Regions from separate parts of the Homo sapiens genome. Here regions 2, 3, 4, 5, 6 and 7 are each linked to region 1. Evidence: promoter capture Hi-C in 16 types of primary human blood cells and fetal thymus (Javierre and others, 2016). All regions are on one chromosome and are shown on one strand. Each heading gives the region's core, a stretch centred on a gene start or on the middle of the fragment in contact. The rest is flanking DNA. Distances are from core to core; before and after follow the strand shown. Region 1 holds the start of LRRTM3 (leucine rich repeat transmembrane neuronal 3). Region 2 overlaps LOC124902439 (a long non-coding RNA gene). Region 3 overlaps LOC124902439 (a long non-coding RNA gene). Region 4 overlaps LOC124902439 (a long non-coding RNA gene). Region 5 overlaps LOC124902439 (a long non-coding RNA gene). Region 6 overlaps LOC124902439 (a long non-coding RNA gene). Region 7 has its middle 190 kb from the start of LINC02671.

Region 1 (2,534 bases), core at 19-2,518:
GAAGGTATTGTTAAGAAAATAGGAGATTCTATTGGAACTAAGAATCAGCTCTTTGAGTCTGCGTATTCCATTAAAAGCATTTTCGTCAATATTGCTGATATGGTTATGGTCAAGGTATAGCCAGGTGAGCTGGTTGAGCCCTTTAAATTGATTATACTTAAGTTTTTGAAGGCTGTTATAGCGAAGGGACAAACCTAAGCAACCAGCAGATATACTTGAGGGTATCTCCTGTAATTTCTGAGATTCACAATATACCATTTTGCCTTCACACCTACAGCCCTTAGGGCATCCTCGTTCGGCAGAAGAAAGCATTGTCAGTAAGACAGTGGGGGCTATAACCAGTGCTACAGCTGATCCGCTCAGTAGCCTAATTACATTGAAACCTGGAAATAAAAACAACTTAGAAAAGTTATCCCCCCAAAAAAGAATTAATCCTTAATCAAGCAAAAATAGGCATATATTTTTCATTTTTAAAAATTTAAATCTAAATAACACTTAACATCACATATTATCTCTTTGTAATTAAAGAGAATTGTCTTTAGTGTTTTGTTTTTTTAAATAGTTAAACAAGGAAACATGCCACTAAGCAAATAAATTCATAGTCTTAGAGCAGAGCAAGGTAATCTCTAAAATAATTAAGGCAGAATTATTACACACACTAGAGGTTTTTTGTTTTTTGTTTTTAAGAAGGAAAGAAGAAAAATGACAAAACATACCCATCCTTTGTATTGTTCAAAGGTCGTCCTTAGGTCTTTTGCTTTGGCTTAGGGGCCAGTTGCATGACAGCCCCTGTCAGCTGCACTGTAGTGAGTCAGGGCTCGCTGACACCCAGGAAGAAAAATTGGACCCCTTGGGAGATGGACCGATTTTGGAACATTATTCTTTGCCAGCCACGCAGAACACTCCAAGAACAAATAAATCCCAACACCGCATTCGCAGCAAAACATCAAAATCTTCCTAGGTAATAGGATCTTCATGGATATTACGTTTTTGCATCTTTACAGTTTTTTGGGGGGTGGGGAGGGGGCGGTTAAAAAAAAAACTGGATCCTACAATTTCTTCTTATCGAAAAACATGATGTATTCTTCCAGGCAATTTGGGGCTACCTGAGCTGCCACATCTGTATTCCATACCCCAGCAGTTCCCGTGATGAGCACCCAGTTCAGCCACAGAGCTGCGTTGGAGCCCAGAAGGCAGGAGAGCCCCGTACCGCGCACACGCTCAGCTCACTTCTGCAGACTGTCATTCTGAAAGCTGCTCGGACTGTTGCTTTGGTTTCAGTGAATGCAGTCTTATGTAAAGCTGCCCCCAGTGGTGAAGAACATTATGGGCATGTGCAGAAATGTCTCTCTTTTATCTTGCAAATGAGCAGGCTCTCTGCTGGAAAATGAATGATTCTTTTGGGTGGCTCAGTAGGAACTGAATGGTCACCGTGATCAATAACTAGCAACATTTTCTGTGATTTCCAAGTCTTGTTTTACAATTTGGCAACGTCTTTATTGTCTGTGTCCACTTAATTGCTAAACATGTGCTGCCCAGAGTTTTTCTGGAGCTTGACATTAAGTTCACAGACCGAACGTCAATTTTTCTTAACCTCAACGCAGGCTTTAAACTGAAATTTATAAAATGAATTATTGAGCTTTTCACAGAGAAGCATTAACTGCCTGCCCATTTGACCTCTTGGAGTCACAGTGATTATATTATGCAAGGTGTCTCAGGATGTTAGAACACAAACATTTTGGAATAGAGGGGATGACTGATGACAAGTGAATTAATGTGTCCAATAGCCTTTCCGGTTTTCTCACAGACGATATAATTGATTTTATGGCTATAGTTTCGTTTGTTGTTTTGGTTGTTGTAATTCTCTTTTAATTAGAAGGGAAATAAACCATTTTTAGTGTTAGGATACGAATCAAGAGATCATTTGGTTCATACTTTATTGATGTTGCTGCTATTTATTACACTAATAATATTTATGGAGCACTTTCTAAGTGCTTTAAATGGGCTACGTTGTTTTCTCTTTAAACAATAGTATGATGTGGGTCCTATTATAACCTCTCTTTTAAAGATGAGGAAACAGACTTGGGGAGGTAACTTTCTCAAGGTCATACAGCAAGCGAGTGCTAGAGCTGAGCTTCAGAAGCGAGTCATTCTTATGCCGAACCACTAACCACTAGATGATCCTGTTCAACAACATTGTTATCTTCATTTAAAAAAGAAGTCAGTGAAAATGAAGCCGATTAAAGGATTGGGGCAAGGAAGCTGTGATTAGCAAATTCTTGCTTGTTCTATTAGAATTGCCTAAATTTCTTTTGGTCTGAGGTTCCTAAAGAAGTATAAAAACTAAGGCAGCGTAGTTTAGTGATTAACAGCATAGATTTTGGCACCTAGATTCCAACTCCTGGCTACAATTTACCAGCTATGTAACCTTAAGCGCGTTACTTACCTTCCCTATGCCTCAGTTTTCTCATCTGCAAAACGGGCATAAAAACAAAAACTCACTTCATGTTTTGAGAATTAAGTCATTTTAATAT
Region 2 (2,534 bases), core at 24-2,523, 3.0 Mb after region 1:
TGCAGTAGTCTTGGCAAGCAGTGAACTACTAGCCCCAGGGCTAGCATTCTGGTGGGGGCTCTAAAGCTAGAAGTAGTGGCTGTACCAACAGGCAAAATGTCTGAGGTGCATCCAAAGGGCAGCTGGGTGCTGAAAGGGATGCCAAAGGGAAAATAAGGATGTAAAACCCACGAAGCTTATTGATGCTGTCAGTGAGTGGCTGGGCTGCAGTGGAGGTTAAGTCTGAAGCTCTTACTGGGGCTGTCTGATGTCAATAAGTTACCAAAGCTGGTAGCTGCAAGCTTCAGCCCAGAAGGGGCTCAAATGTGGGCTAAACAGTGGCTCTTGGGCCACAATAACTTTGAAAGTTGCATTTGGGCCACTGACCAACTGTGCAGACAAACTGGTGGGAACAGGCTGAGGTAATGCTGCTCCTGGGTGACATGTTCTCAGAACCAGGGAGCTCCATGGAAAATGGGAAGATGTTCTCTCTGGAGCCTGAAGGAGAACTCAGGAAGAAAGCTTGAGAAGGGGGAGTGATGTCCATGCCAGTGACATCAAAGTTCAAAGTAGCTAAGAGTTCAACCGTGCAGACGTGCTGGTTGCAATGGAGGACATGACTGCAGAAGCAGTGATAGGCTGGTGGGAGAAGGCTGAGTACTGGCGGAGGTGACTGGGGGAGGGTATCCATGAATCCACTGGAGAGTCCATAGGTGACTCTATTCTGCAGGAGGCAAGCTAGGAGAAAATCAAGGTGCTGGCAGGTGTGAGGAGGACAGTAGTAGAAGACACTCCAGCTATGACTGAGGGATGGGAATGCAGGTCCTCTGTTCTTATTACTAAGTGGAACCCCCAAAATGAGCTTGAACCTAAAAGGAGAAAGACAGTCAGCACAAACAGCAAATGGAGAATCAGGAGAGGAATGTGCATCTCATTCTACAGTCAGTCTCTGGAGTGTGAGAAGATAGAAGGGCAGACAGGACTGGGGCCCTGGCAGACTGGTCAGCTAAGTTTGCAACTGGGAATGTTTTAACACGCAAGACCCACAAGGTGAAAGTGACCAGGGGCAGGATGTTTTCATTCCCTACAGCAGGCAGAGCAATAGAACCCACAGGCTGAGTGACACTGCAGTCCATGGTGGCTTCAGTCTTAACTTCCGATATGTTATTGAGCCATTGACACTCAGCTTTCTTCTCTAAGCTTAGGTCTTCTCTAATGACTAGACAAGGAAGCTGAGGAGGGGAGGAAGGCAGCTCACCTCCATCCCACAACAGTAGCAGTGGCGGCAGCAGCAACATTGAAATTTTCCATCAACGAGGCCTACAGCTGGCAGATGTGGGTGAAGAATTTCTCCTTGACAAGCATCTAAATGGTGTCTGGAAGCTTTTTTCCCTGCTAGTCTCCTCCAACATCAGTGAGTGGAGAGCTCTCCGACGGCCTTCATCAAGCACTGTCTCTGTCAGCCTCTTGAGCAGGGGGGAGCAGGATGAGCTCTTTGAAGACGTCTGGGCTGTCTTTACTCAAGCCGTCTTCTGGGAGCCCAGATTGGAGGTCTCAAGACAGAGACCCTCGACTGCACCGGAAAAAAGACAACAGTCCAGTGGCCTCCATAGGCCTAGATGCTGATGGCTTAGTGCTCCTACTGCCACTGTATGCTGATGATTCACCCCTGCTGCCACGGGGCCTCTTCTCTGATCCTGCCACCGTTGCTCACTAGTTGGTGTCCTCTTCCTTCGCTGTTTCTTTCCTGTCCTCTCCTAGGGCCCTTCACTCAGTCTCCTTTGGACAAGGATCTACCCAGTGATTGATGGCACCAGCCTCAAGGGACGACTAGCGGCTAAGGTGGCAAACGGAGGATGGTCTCTTTGCTCCCAGGAAGAGGGATGTTTATTGTTCCCGGGTGGCCTGATTCTTCGAAGTGGCCCATTGGAACACAGAGTGTCCCCCCCAGACACTGCTCAGAACGGAGGGCTGAGCCTGCTGCTGCACAGAGGCAAAAGCTCGCAATGCTCATAGAACAACCCGCGAACAGGGCCCAGGAGAGCTGCAGGGAACCGAGCGATCTGGCCAGGCGGAGTGGCGGGGGCGGGGGAAGGGCGGCGCAGGGACCAGTGGGCGAAGCTGCCAGTGAGTTGCCTGTGAGGAGCCGTTTGAGCTCTGTTGTAGTTGCTAGGCGCAGAGATCGCCTAGCTATCGACTCTGCTCGCAGGCGGCGCTATCCCACGCGGTGCTGGCGACAGTCACTGGAGCACGTGGCAAAGAAAGGGCGCACCAGCGAAGGGCGCCAGAGGGCAATCTTAGCCGCCCACCCGGCGTCCTGTCGAGCGCTTCGGGACCTCCTGCCTCTGAGGCAGGAGTTTGGGCTCAGGTGGGTCCCACGCTGTTGGGGACTGTTGAGGACTGCCACTGCGGAGGCCCGGACCCACAGGGCCTGCGAACCCCTCAGCGCCTGGTACGGGGCGGCAGCTTGGGAAATCAGTTCCCGTGTGTCCTCTGGTCCTTTTCCCGGAGTCACTGAGAGGCAGAACATGCTCAAAGCCAGAGCGCGAGAGCAC
Region 3 (2,534 bases), core at 11-2,510, 2.9 Mb after region 1:
TTGAGCCTTTCTAAAATCAGGATATAAAGGCTAGAAGGGTCAAAAGTAATATGTGAAAAACAAAGGATCTAGAAGAAAGGTCCTTGCCCTCCAGTAACTTACAATCCTGTTGGAAGAATAAGACTTAGAAAATAAAGCTATTTTAGAACAAATAGTTTATTGTAGTGCTAAAAAATGAGAATCAGATCTAAGCATTCTTTTTCAGCTCAGTTCTCCAACTTAAAGTTCATAGACTGGAAATTTATAAAACCACAAAGAAAAAGACTAAGGAAAAAATGAATAAGGCCTCCCCCTGGGAGGATTTAGTAAAGAATAATTGAAGTCCATGGAATCCCCCCAGACTGACCATTCATATGCGACTTGGGGATAGAGGTTCTTTAAAAAGTCCTGTAGAGCCAGGCCAGATGCGGTGGTTCACACTTGTAATCCCAGCACTTTGGGAGGCCGCAGTGGGCAGACTGCCTGAGGTCAGGAGTTTAAGACCAGCCTGTCTTAAGATGGTGCAACCCGGTCTCTACTAAAAATACAAAAATCAGTCGGGCGTGGTGGCGGGTGCCTGTAATCGCAGCTACTCGGGAGGCTGAGGCAGGAGAATTGCTGGAACCCAGGGGGCAGAGGTTGCAGTGAGCCAAGATTGTATCACTGCACTCCAGCCTGGGCGACAGAGCAAGGCTCTGTCTCCAAAATAAATAAATAAATAAATAAAATTTAAAAAAAATTCCTGTAGAGCCAGAGTCATTGGGTTCTCCCTCAATTAATATCTGAGGTGCCCAGAAACTGCAATGCCCAGGCAATAAGCCATCAAAGCCCCAGTCAAGCAGAAACATAGTCCCACTGAAGTTAGTGGCCTAAATTCTTCAAGTCAGATGCAGTAATCCCAGAATTAAGTTTCATCAAGTTAAAAAAATCTGATTACCAACCAGATTATCCATTATAATCTCAATGCCCAAAGATAACAAGTTATTCACGGTCTGTCATCCCAATTGTTCTCAGCAAGTAAATGAGAGAACATGCCTTCAGAAAGACGCATCTCAGTCTCTGTTGTGTGACCTAGGGCAGGCACCAGTCCACCTCCAAATTGCTGTAATGATCATGGGAGATAATGAATGGGAAATTGTCTTGTAACTTGAAAGGTATATTTTTAAAGTTATTACCTTCACTAGATGTTTGGGAACAGATTATTACTCATATTAGAAAAGCCCCATATGATAAGCAAAGTGCTCCATAGTCAAACTCGTCTACTTCATTGGCCTCACTCTTCCACTCCACCCTCCCACCCCTACCTCACGTCCACTCCCGATACTCCATATCCGCATATCACCCCAAAGCACTCAGTGCTTTCTTATGCTTCTGTTCCTTTGTCTTGATAAAGATATGATGCTAAAGAGGCCAAATACTACTCTTAAAGAAAGTTAATATTAAAACATAGAGGAAACTTTTGATCTCATTTATTTCCCATTATCTGACTTTATCCCCTCTAGGCAGAAAATCTTAATAACCAAATATTTGCATAATGCCTTTCTTTTTATGTCCTTGATTTCAACCAATTGCTTGAGAATATTTCCCCATCTCTCCAATAGTATCAAACCCAGTGAACTGATATGTTAATTTTAGGTAACTTGGGATATTCAGAGCACTTTGATGTACAATTATAAATCATAAACTAGCAAAGAAGACAAGGCCTCTGGAGAAGGAAATGTCAGAAACTTCTCCTCCTGCTTGTTTCATTAGGAGAGTTGTGATAGTAATGGGAGGAGGCTAGATTGAGAAAATAATCATATGGGGGTTCAGGGAATATTTGTGAAAGTTAGGTTTAGCAGCTCTGTCTAACTTCTTGGTCTGGTAGATGTCGCAAGTTTAATAAAATTTCCCAGATCTTTGAGCCAAAGTCTCTTTTAAGATACCCCAGAAAATCAAGAAGTCATGACAATTAAAGAGTCCTGTACCAGCACATCCTGTCTTCACTGCCTGCAAAGCTCACCACTCTCTTCTCCATCCACAAACTCCCATACTCCTTTGAAGCAGCAGCTGAGCCGCCACAACCTCGAGCCTCTCTCCTGATCACAGCATCACATAGACAAGGCTTCAGTGGAACCATGACAATTAGAATATTTATTGATTGCAGCACTTACAAAATTTGAAATATTTGAATAAAAAATTTTCCATAAAACTTTGGCTCCTGTTTACTTATCTTTAAGCCTAAAGCTCCTAGCACAGTGCCTGGAAACGAATAGCTAGAAAAAATATTTGTTTATATGTCAAGAAAAAAACATTTACTAGGCTCTTGCATAAGCATCCTCAGGGATTTCTCTTCAATTCTAAAGCTCACACAAGCTCAAAAATGCTTAAATGGACGTTGAATTCGTGTTTCATTGTGCCAATCCCTTTTCATGGTGAAATTCCCAGAGCCTGAAAAGGCATGGATAGATTCCCAAACCCTATATTTTATCACCCACCTGCGTTATCCTCTGTGTACTGTGATGGCTTGGTGGGGATGAAATTGACAGAGAGAAAAAGAGGTAATTGACGGAGTA
Region 4 (2,534 bases), core at 13-2,512, 2.9 Mb after region 1:
ACTGTTTTCTATAATTGCCATACTAATTTAAATTCTCACCAACAGTGCATAAGGATTTCTTTTTCTCCACATCCTCACCAATATTTGTTATCTTTTGTCTTTTTGATAATAGTCATTCTAACTTATGTGAGGTGATATCTCATTGTGGTTTTAATTTGCATTTCCCTGATAATTAGTGAGGTTGAGCACTTTTTCTTAAACCTGTTGGCCATCTGTATGTCTTCTTTTGAGCACTGTCTCTTCAGATCCTTTGCCCATTTTTAAAATTGGATTATTTGTTTTCTTGCTATTGAGTTGCTTGAGTTCCTTATATATTTTTGATGTTAACCCCTTATAAGAAATATGATTTGCAAATATTTCCTCCCAGTTTGGAGGTTGTCTCTTCACTCCCTTTATTGTCTCCTTTACTGTGCAGAAGCTTTTTAGTTTGACATATTCCAATTTGTCTATCTTTGCTTTTGTTGCCTGTGCATTTGGGGTCACACTCAAAAAATTATTGCCCAGACCAATGTCATGGAGCTTTTATCCTACGTTTTTCTTGTAGCAGTTTTAGAGTTTCAGGCCTTAAATTTAAGTCTTTAATTGATGTTGAGCTAATTTTTGTATATGTTGTGAGATAAGGGTCCAATTTCATTCTTCTGCATGTGGATATCCAGTTGTCACAACACCATTTATTTAAAGGATTGTCCTTTCCCAATTGTGTGTTCAGAGCAATTTTGTTGAAGATCAGTCGGCTGCAAATGCATGGATTTATTTCTAGGCTTCCTGTCCATCTCCATTTTTCTATTTGTCTTTTTTTTATACCAGTGCTATGCTGTTTTTGCTTACTGTAGCTTTGTGGTATATTTTGACATCAGATAGTTGATGCCTCTAGCTTTGTTCTTTTTGCTCAAGATTGCTTTGGCTATTTGGGGTCTTTTGTAGTTCCATACAAATTTTAGGAATTTTTTTTCTATTTCTGTAAAAAATGCCATTGAAATTTTAATAAGAATTTCATTGAATCTGTAGATCACTTTGAGTAATATGGCCAGTTGAACAACATTAATTCTTTTAATTCATGAACATAGAATACCTTTTTATTTTTGTGTCTTCAATTTCTTTCATCAATGTTTTACAGTTTTCAGTGTGTTGGTCTTTTACCTCCTTCATTAAACTTATTCCTAAGTAATTTTTATGCTATTGTAAATGGGATGGGTTTTTTCTTTTTTGAAATTTTTTATTTATTTATTTTTAAATTTATATTCTTTTCTTTTCCCTTCCTCTTCCTCTCCCCACTATCTTTCCCATCCTCTGATAACTACCATTCTACTTGCTATCTTCATGAGGTTCACTTTTTTACCTCCCATATATGAAATCATGTGATACCTGTTTTTCTGTGCTTGGCTTATTGCACTTAATATAATAGCTTCCAGTTTCGTCTATGTTGCTGCAAATGACATGATTTCATTCTTTTTAAGACTCAATAACATTCTGTTGTGTGTATACACCACATTTTCTTTATCCATTCATTCATTTTTGGGCACTTAGGTTGATTTCATATTATGGATATTATGAATAGTACCACAATGAACATGGGAGTGCAGATGTCTCTTTGATATATTGATTTTCCTTCTTTTAGTGTATACCTAGTAGTGAGATTGCTGGGTCATATGGTAGTTCTATTTTCAGTTTTTCAAAGAATCTCCGCGCTGTTCTCCATAGTGGCTGTACTAATTTACATTTCCATCAACAGTACATGAGTGTCCCCTTTCTGCACATCCTCACCAGCATCTGTTATTCTCTGACTTTTTGATACAAGCCATCTTAACTGGGGTGAGATAATATCTCATCATGGTATTGATTTGCATTTCTCTGATGAGTAGTTATATTGAGTATTTTTTTTGTTAACCTTTTGGCCACTTGTATGGCTTCTTTTGAGAAGTGTTTGTTCAGATCTTTTGCCCATTTTTAAATCGGATTATTTGTTTTTGCCACTAAGTTGTTTGAGCTCCTTATATATTCTGGTTACTAATTCCTTGTCAGACGGACAGTTTGCACATATTTTCTCTCATTCTGTAGGTTGTCTCTTCAGTTTGTTGATTGTTTCCTTTGCTGTGCAGAAGCTTTTTAGCTTGTTATAACCCCATTTGTCTATTTTTGCTTTGGTTGCCTGTGCCTTTGAGTTCTGTCTTAGAGAAAATAAAAGTCTTTGCCTAGACTAGTGTCCTAAAGTGCTTCCCAATGTTTCCTTCTACTAGTTTCATATATTCAGGTCTTAGATTTAAGTCTTCAATTCATTAATTCATTTTGAATTGAATGTTGTGAGAGATAAGGTCTAGTTTCATTCCTCTGCATATAGTTATCCAGTTTTCCCATTTATTGAAATGACTGTCCTTTCCCCATTGTATGTTCTTAGCACCACTGTTGAGGATAAATTTGCTATAAATGCATGGACTTATTTATGGGTTCTCTATCGTGTTCCACTGAAATATGCATCTGTTTTTATGCCAGTGTCATGCTGTTTTGCTTATTATAGCTTTGTAGTAAATTTTCAA
Region 5 (2,534 bases), core at 20-2,519, 2.9 Mb after region 1:
TCTCTTAGGTCAGTGTTTCTTAATCAGATGTGATTTTGCCCTCCAGAGCTATTTGACAATGCCTAGATACACTTTTGGTTGTCTCGGCTAAGAGAATGCTACTGGCTTCTAGTAGGGAGTAGAGGCCAGGAATGCTGCTGAACATTCTATAATGCATGGAACAGCCACCCACTACATCTGCATTAGATTCTCCAAGGCCTCTCAGTCAATTCTAAAAAAAAATTAAGAGCAACTACACAAGAGCTTTACTTTTCCAAGGAAAAGCATGGACAAGAAGTATCTTTGCAGCCTTATAACACTTTTGTCATGGCTCACAGATGCAGCTGGATTGCTCTTCTAAGATTCCAGTATCCCTCAACATCTTGCTAAGTAACTTTCCACAAAATCTGAGCACTAGATTTTCTTGCTAAAGTCCCATGGGTTGTAATGTTCCTGGGCACTATGTTTGCATTTCCACCAGGACATTCAACACAGAAGACATTGAAAAATGGTGAACCCATCTACCAAGACATAGTGAACCCATTTGGAAGCACAGGGTGAGGAGGCATGACTCCATCATGTATTAAATCTATGCCCTGGTGTCCACACTGAGGACTGGATTCTAGGCAGTAGAAATATGGTTCTGTGAGAAGTTTATAGACCTGAAAGTCAGGGCACCTGGCTGTCCCATCAACGAACTCTGGGGACTGAACCCCAGTTTCTCTATAAAATGCAGGACTTGAGGTCTGCATCTGCCAAAATTCTACCAGAGACACAGAACCAGTAGGAGATAGATATTAAGGGATTATTGCAAGTCATTGGCTTATACAATTGTGGGCTAGGCTAGGCAAGACCAAAATGCTTAGAGCAGGCCACCAAGAAAGATAGGCTGGAACTCTTGAACATAGGCTGAAGCTACAGTCACACATGAAATTTCTTCCTCTTCCAGGAAACTGCAGTTCTGCCATTAAGACCTTCCACCTGATTGAATTGGGCCCACTCACATTACCCAGGATAATTCCCTGTACTTAAAGTCACCTGATAATGAACATTAATCACATCTACAAAATACCTTCACAGCAACCCCTCATTAGTGTTTGATTGCGTAACTGACATATAAAACTGACCATCACAGACTCCATGGTGTCTTAGTTTGTTTTGTACTTTCAAAAGCTTCAATTTTAATATTAATCATCCTGAACAACAAAATGTCATTTTTAGGACTGAGATCCAGGCACAGATACACCAAAGGGAGCAACTCTGAGCAATTGGCTCAAATATTAAGTTAGGTCATGAGGACTCGGGCTTAGGAGGCAAGGTGCAAAGATACAGATCTGGCCACACCAGGGTCTCTCTTAACGCAAGTCAAGGAAGGTTTAGAGAAAGTGCTGCTAAATAGAAGCTTTTCTTCCAAAATGCAACTGGCAAACTGTCCATCCACCCTAGGCAAGGTCTTTTAAGGAACCAATTATTTCCTGGAGAAAAAATAAAGTATTGATACAGAGACCATTGTGTTTTCTGGCATTTATCCAGATCTTAGAATTACTGAATTTTTGAGCAAGAAAGGATCTTAGAGTTAATCTTTTTTAACTCTCATTCACATTACAGATGAAGGGACTTGAGAACCAGAGAGATTTGTGAACCACAGTGTCAAGAAGCTCCTCAGTGTCACAGCCAGGATAAATAAAGCATCAGAAGTCCCAGGCCAAAGCTCTTTCAACCACTTCTGCTTCCAACAAGCCAAAGAAATGTGTACAGGCCTAAAATACAAGACTTCTACCTCCTCAGCAAAGCCTGCAAGCAAGCTCTTTATTGCTGGCATTTACCCTGACAGATATCAGTAACTACAAAAGGGTATGCTGTTAACGCACGATGACAAATTCCAAAATTGGCTTGTTTTCACAACTGTCACTTTTTAAGAGGTGAATGACCTTTCTCTGGTTCTTTAAAAACCACTGGATTTCAGCCAGTGCAACATCCCCGCACTTCCTCCCACAATCGCTTGCTATGAAAATGTCATTATTCTATTTTGGAGAGGCTAGAGGAGTTGTGCTTCTTTTATAATAACTATTTTTTTCTGAAAGGGGAAAAAAAATCATGAAAGCCAGGACTGGAAAAGTTTTCATGGATCAGTCACACTCCCAACATGCACAGGGGGAGAAAAAAGTAGAAAATACAATGTCAAATCCCATATGAAAGATGTAATCCCTTTACCCTCTATGGGAAGATCTTTTGTGGCTTTATTTTGATTCAGGACTGAGAAATGTCTTGTTGCCCATTTTCAAAACTGCATCGGCCTCCAGCAGCCCTCTCCCTGATAAACCACCTAATCTGAGGGATAGAAATAATTCCCCCTGTCCAACATTCAGCTCCAAATTCTCCCTCCTGAACCCTATTATTTTGGAATTTTTGGTAGCAACAAACAGAAATAGGCAGCAAGATTAAGAAACAACGAGATAACATGTGGGTATATGTGCACGAAAGTGCTTATGTACCTAGGTGCCGAGGCAAGAGACTGAAGGCACAAACTGTTTCAGTATAATAAAGAAAATAGT
Region 6 (2,534 bases), core at 20-2,519, 2.8 Mb after region 1:
AATGTCTTTTCTTTTAGGAAACCTTCCTTGACTGTCCTCCTTGTCATCTATCACTCTTAGTTTTTGTAGAATTAATACCTCTCTCTTTTATCTACCCACCGTAGTTTATTTGTATTCTAAATCTCCTATCACCTGCTGCCTACATGATAATTATTTGCAAATCTGCCACGTCATCCTTCATTAGGTTTGATGACGTTGATGTTAATATCACAGTTTCCATGGAGTCTGGCCCCATCCATGCCTTACACATAGTCCGTGTTAATAAACATTTTCTGAGCTAGACTATTCTCTCCTGGATCCCCATTATTTCCACACGATGAGCCTTATTTATCCTCACATGAATAATGGGTTTATACAGAAATGGGTAACATTTTTCAAAAATAGAAAAGAATGACTGCTCTATTCATTTTGCTAAGCCTTGCCCAAAACACATTTTCATGAATGGCTTCAAGAAAAGCATCTTTGGAGATAGGTTAGCAATAGTTTTCTAGTCTAACCTCCAACAGAGTAGTACAGAAAATTATCCCTTAGTATTCTCAGTGATGGGAAACTCACTACCTCATACTTCCTCTTTAGAAAGTGAAACTGTAAATAACCTAAACCATATTCCTTCATCGGAGGCAAAGGGTAAAAGTGGCTCTTCTCTGAACAGTTAGCTTGAGAATAATTTATGGCAGTTAATTAAACCCTAGCCTGATATTTTCTATTTTTAAAGGGGCAACCAATTATTTACTTATTCATTTCCCTTGATGTGCTTAGGAGCACTTTTAAGTACACTGTCAAATGTCAAGCAGAGGAGAGTGGCAGCCTGGAATTAAAGCAGTCATTCTATGCCTAGGGCTCAGCTTCCCTTGGTCGGCTGGGCACTATGACTTAGAAATGAGACTCTGTTATGCTCTAGTGCTCTGCACTTTTTTCACATTTCATTAGACAAAGTTGTCAAAGGTGGTATCAAATGGCCAAATAAATCAAAGCTTGATCTATCTTCATTTCCCATTACTTTACTGTCTATTTCTAACATAACCAGAGTTCATTCACAAATCTCTGATGCTTTGCAAATGTCAGATGGACTTTCAGTTTCTCCTTGAAGAGTCTTCCTATCAAGTCATAATACATACACCTCTGTTATTTCACATCTAGGGGAGTTTGGTCTTTAAACATTAGCCTGTAGCAAAAGGCTTTGTTTCCCATGTTTTGGCTCAGTTTCTCATACAGCGTACATGGAGATGTATAGGGTAGGAAAATGTGAGCAACCATCTCTACCACCATGGCAGACATTGCTAATTAATCACAGCCGTCTTTCCTGATGAGCCCAAATAGGGCTTAGCATTTATCACGACTGTACTCCCGTCAGTCACTACCAACTAACCAGAGTTGGAACAAGAGCTAAAACCTATTTGCTATCTCAGAGTCCAGTAAAAAGTCATCCTAGGTCACTGAAAAGAATCATAGAATGCTAGAGCTGGTCAGATCAATGGTTCGTTAAGCTCAATACCCTATTATAGAGGCAACTACAAAGGAAGGGCTGAGAGAGGGATCCGTGTCCTCTTTGACATCAAGCTTAAAAGCTATCTCCCCTTGCTACTTCTGATGGAGCTGCAGTTCATAAAATTTACCCAAGGCCATGTTGAATTCTAGTATGCAAATGAACAATAACTAAGTCAGTAGAAGTCTTCAGGCATGCATAAGGGCTGGGCTGGCTGTTGGCAACTGATCGATAAAAATTTCACCAAGATTTCTTCACACGCTCAGTGTTGCCAGTTTAAGGTGAATGGTGCTTTCATTTTTTGCTTTGCATTTTTATTTGTAAAGCCCTTCTTTCCGGATTCATATTTCCCGTTACAGAATCTGTGGACACATCATATTTTTTGTTTCTTCATAGTTCGCAAACAAGTATTGAGTACCTGCTATGAACGATATTGTTATTTCCATTGTGATTCCCCCATACACACTACACTCACACACAACACATGAGGCATGCTTTTATCTCCAGATAGCCACACGATTCCCTGTCTCAGTTACTTTAGTCATTACTAATTACCACTTTCCACGTTCCTGTGAGGCCTCCTGTCTTAGCCTGTTTCTACTAACAAAATACCTAGTCTATTCCTATCACAAAATACCTTAGACTGGGTCATTTATAAACAGTCCATAAATACCACTGCTGATATCAGAAAGTGGGGTCTTTGGGAAGTGATTAGGTCAAAAGGGCTCAGCCCTTGTGAATAGGATTAACGCCCTTAAGTTTCAACATGTGGATTTTGGAGGGACACATGCATTCAAACCATAGCAGCTTCTCAGCAAGCATGTCTAAGAGTGCAAACCACACCCAAATAAATCATTTCCCCTTCCTGCTTAATTTTCTTCCTCACACTTACCACCATCTACCATACTCTATATTCTACTTATTTTTCTTATTTATGTATTATCTTTATCAATCACTAGGACGTAAGTGAGTAGGGGTTTTTGTCTGTCTTGTTCATTGCTGTATTCCCCAGCATCTAAAACAATGCCCAATGTATAGTAGGCATTCA
Region 7 (2,534 bases), core at 23-2,522, 2.2 Mb after region 1:
AATAGACTCTGAGATGGAGATTTGTGTACAGGTTTACTGAAAGGTAACCCCTACATCAACAAGTCTGGGGGAGTGAAGGAAGTAGGACTGGGCAGTGGCAGGAGTTTAGCTGTGGTTGCAAGAGGCCTCTATTATGGACATTTGGAGCTAAAATAGGCCTTTTAAGTTGCCCTGCCTTGAGCAAAAGAACATGGGAGGGTTCTACTTACCTTACCAACTGACCATTAGACTTGAGCTATCCCCAGGGAGGGGACTTACTCTTGGGTGAAGAGACTGTATTCAGCTTAGGAAGATTACAAAGGAGCAGAAGGTCCTTGCAGAAGATCATTCCCAGCAGCTGAAGTGTTGCCTCAATTCTGAGAAAAAAAAAAAAAAAGTAGCTAAGCTCAACATTAGCTACTGCTATAAATTTATCTCATTATTTCTTGTCTGCCCTCAAGAGTCAATGAAGTTCAATCACTCTTTCACATAGGGCAAAAATATTAGGGCACACATTTTTACCTTTCACAAGTCTCTTAAGTTTTGCTCAGTTATAGTAGTTGCAATGTTCGACTCATATATTGACATGATTCTTCTTAAAGTAGAAAACATAGAATCAAATGAATTACTTAGCTGTGTTTTCATCCCACAGTGTAATCTAATCAAGGAGAAAACTATTACAACATTCTCTTGACTTCTTTTCAAGAAAGATTTCCTTGACTTGGAATCTAACCTGGGGTGTAGCAGTGAGATCACCAAATCCTAACCACGAGACCACCAGGAAGCTGCTACTGACAACCTAACTCACCCTAAAATCATATTAAATTTTAGGTAACTTCACCCCACCATTGACTTACAGCAAAGTGATAGTCAATGAATACCTGTAATTTTCTCTCATATATTGCTATTTTGCTTTATTCTCTCATTTTGTTCTTGTAGAGATAGTTTTATGTTTTATTGTACCCAATGACAGAAGCTCACGTTTCTAAGAGATTACATATTGCATCTTTCTAAACTATCAATAAAAATTTTCTAAATATTTTCTTATTCTGTATCCACAGCACCTAGCCTGAAACATAATGGGTGCTTAATTAATGTTTTTTGAATGAATGGAAGGAATTTAGTTTCTAAATGACTTGTAAGTTGTTTGGTTAAATCCAAAATCAGATAAAAACTCTCAGAGTGCCTACTCATCTGAAATGTAACCCTTATATTGTTACTTCATTGCTTTAAAACAGAGACTTGATGAAATACAATGAAGACAAAAGAGTTCGATAGTCTCATAATTCTGGTCTTATTTGTTTCAATTCCCTTGAAGTTTCTTGTGTGTAAAAAAGCAGCTTTGTTAACAGATGCCCTTGTGATTTTGAGAAGTGATGAGAAAATTCCAAACCAACTCTTCACTTTTAATTTAATTATATTGATGGAAACTTACACTGAGAGTAGCACTAGCTATCAATCAACTTTACCTACTTCTGTGCTCTGGAAAAACTCATTTCAGCATTCCCCCCACTCTTTTATCACTGTCTTCCTTTTTGTGATTAAGCTAAGATCAACCATCTTTCCAAAGATAAGTCAGAATTCCATCCAGATTCGTTTATGGTGGTCAAAGCAATTGAATGTATTTTCCCCAAGATGTAGTTCACTATTAACTGAGTTTTTGTTTCTATTGTTTTCCTCACAAGTAGAACATGTTTGTGATCAATTTCCTCTTACTAGGAATGATTATTTCTTAGTCAAGGGGTATCACATAGAAAATTTCAAGTAAAGAGGATAAGAAACAGATAGCACCAGGCTAATTTAATGGACCAGACAATTCTTCACACTCCAATTCACCTGAATGTCTGTTTTAACTACAGGACAAAGTTTAATTATTGAGGAACACTTCATATATAATTCCAATCCTATATAATTCAGAGTTATTACAGTGTGGTGCTAGGAGATGGCAGAAAAGTGGCAGTTGTATTTCAGGTGCTGGCCTGGTGTTTTACAAATTACAAGTAGTGAAAGTAATTTTTAAAAAAGTAATTACTTGAAGTTTCCTGAAAACTAAAGCTATGTATTTTTTAGTGCAAAAAAGGACAAGAACATGAAATATTTTCAGGGACCTCTTCCTATATGAAAGAATGTTAAATTTGATAAAAAAGAGAACTCATTTTCTTCAGTATGACAAGTAATGTTCTAACTGATTTCTTTGTAATAACCCTCCTAAAACCACATGTTAGAAACTGCCTATCCTCATTTTATAAATTAGAGAACTGAGACATGGTAAAGTTATGTAAATCACCCAAGTTTACAGAGCTAGCAAGGGTATTGTCTAGATTTGAGCCCAAGCAGTCTGATGCCAAGTTTATTATCTAAACAAAATACTCCTGAAATACTTCTCTGAAAAAGAAATTATCTGCACATAATGTGTAAATGCAAACTCCCCCTTGGAAAATTACTTTTATCATTAAAGTAATTTGTTTTTATTTTTATAAATTTCATGATTTACTTTTACTTCCCTATACAACATTGCAATCCTTGAAAATTAACTCAGTCAATGTTTAACTTGG

The links. Contacts are between HindIII fragments. The CHiCAGO score rates a contact against its expected background, and 5 or more counts as called.
Region 2: a contact is called between a fragment that was not itself captured here and the fragment with the promoter of LRRTM3 in region 1, in 3 of 17 cell types (M2 macrophages, endothelial precursors and M0 macrophages). The highest score is 9.8, in M2 macrophages.
Region 3: a contact is called between a fragment that was not itself captured here and the fragment with the promoter of LRRTM3 in region 1, in 2 of 17 cell types (endothelial precursors and M2 macrophages). The highest score is 10.5, in endothelial precursors.
Region 4: a contact is called between a fragment that was not itself captured here and the fragment with the promoter of LRRTM3 in region 1, in 3 of 17 cell types (M0 macrophages, M2 macrophages and endothelial precursors). The highest score is 8.1, in M0 macrophages.
Region 5: a fragment that was not itself captured here is called in contact with the fragment with the promoter of LRRTM3 in region 1 in 2 of 17 cell types (M0 macrophages and M2 macrophages); the score reaches 5.3 in M0 macrophages.
Region 6: a contact is called between a fragment that was not itself captured here and the fragment with the promoter of LRRTM3 in region 1, in 2 of 17 cell types (M2 macrophages and M0 macrophages). The highest score is 7.1, in M2 macrophages.
Region 7: a fragment that was not itself captured here is called in contact with the fragment with the promoter of LRRTM3 in region 1 in 1 of 17 cell types (endothelial precursors); the score reaches 7.8 in endothelial precursors.

The regions. Positions count from the first base shown.
Region 1 is chr10:66,924,770-66,927,303 of GRCh38, reverse strand. It overlaps LRRTM3 (leucine rich repeat transmembrane neuronal 3), which reads right to left and starts at 1,268. Exons shown (of 3, transcript NM_178011.5): 1 at 717-1,268; 2 at 1-383. The coding sequence starts at 720. The region is part of intron 7 of CTNNA3 (catenin alpha 3); the gene reads left to right. The region is part of intron 3 of LOC101928961 (a long non-coding RNA gene); the gene reads left to right. RefSeq lists a silencer at 1,296-1,405 and an enhancer at 1,025-1,881. The HindIII fragment of the contact is 12,033 bases long and covers 1-2,534 here.
Region 2 is chr10:63,973,285-63,975,818 of GRCh38, reverse strand. The region is part of intron 1 of LOC124902439 (a long non-coding RNA gene); the gene reads right to left. It also overlaps the pseudogene LOC100420828. Among named protein-coding and RNA genes, the nearest start is that of REEP3, 450 kb to the right of the region's middle. The HindIII fragment of the contact is 183 bases long and covers 1,182-1,364 here.
Region 3 is chr10:64,028,905-64,031,438 of GRCh38, reverse strand. All of the region lies in intron 2 of LOC124902439 (a long non-coding RNA gene), which reads right to left. LOC105378333 (a long non-coding RNA gene) reads left to right here. Exons shown (of 3, transcript XR_946014.3): 3 at 1,901-2,120. Among named protein-coding and RNA genes, the nearest start is that of REEP3, 510 kb to the right of the region's middle. The HindIII fragment of the contact is 3,255 bases long and covers 1-2,534 here.
Region 4 is chr10:64,047,892-64,050,425 of GRCh38, reverse strand. All of the region lies in intron 2 of LOC124902439 (a long non-coding RNA gene), which reads right to left. Among named protein-coding and RNA genes, the nearest start is that of REEP3, 530 kb to the right of the region's middle. The HindIII fragment of the contact is 1,684 bases long and covers 421-2,104 here.
Region 5 is chr10:64,066,607-64,069,140 of GRCh38, reverse strand. The region is part of intron 3 of LOC124902439 (a long non-coding RNA gene); the gene reads right to left. Among named protein-coding and RNA genes, the nearest start is that of REEP3, 550 kb to the right of the region's middle. The HindIII fragment of the contact is 229 bases long and covers 1,155-1,383 here.
Region 6 is chr10:64,111,210-64,113,743 of GRCh38, reverse strand. The region is part of intron 3 of LOC124902439 (a long non-coding RNA gene); the gene reads right to left. Among named protein-coding and RNA genes, the nearest start is that of REEP3, 590 kb to the right of the region's middle. The HindIII fragment of the contact is 586 bases long and covers 977-1,562 here.
Region 7 is chr10:64,737,523-64,740,056 of GRCh38, reverse strand. No RefSeq gene overlaps it. Among named protein-coding and RNA genes, the nearest start is that of LINC02671, 190 kb to the left of the region's middle. The HindIII fragment of the contact is 2,982 bases long and covers 1-2,534 here.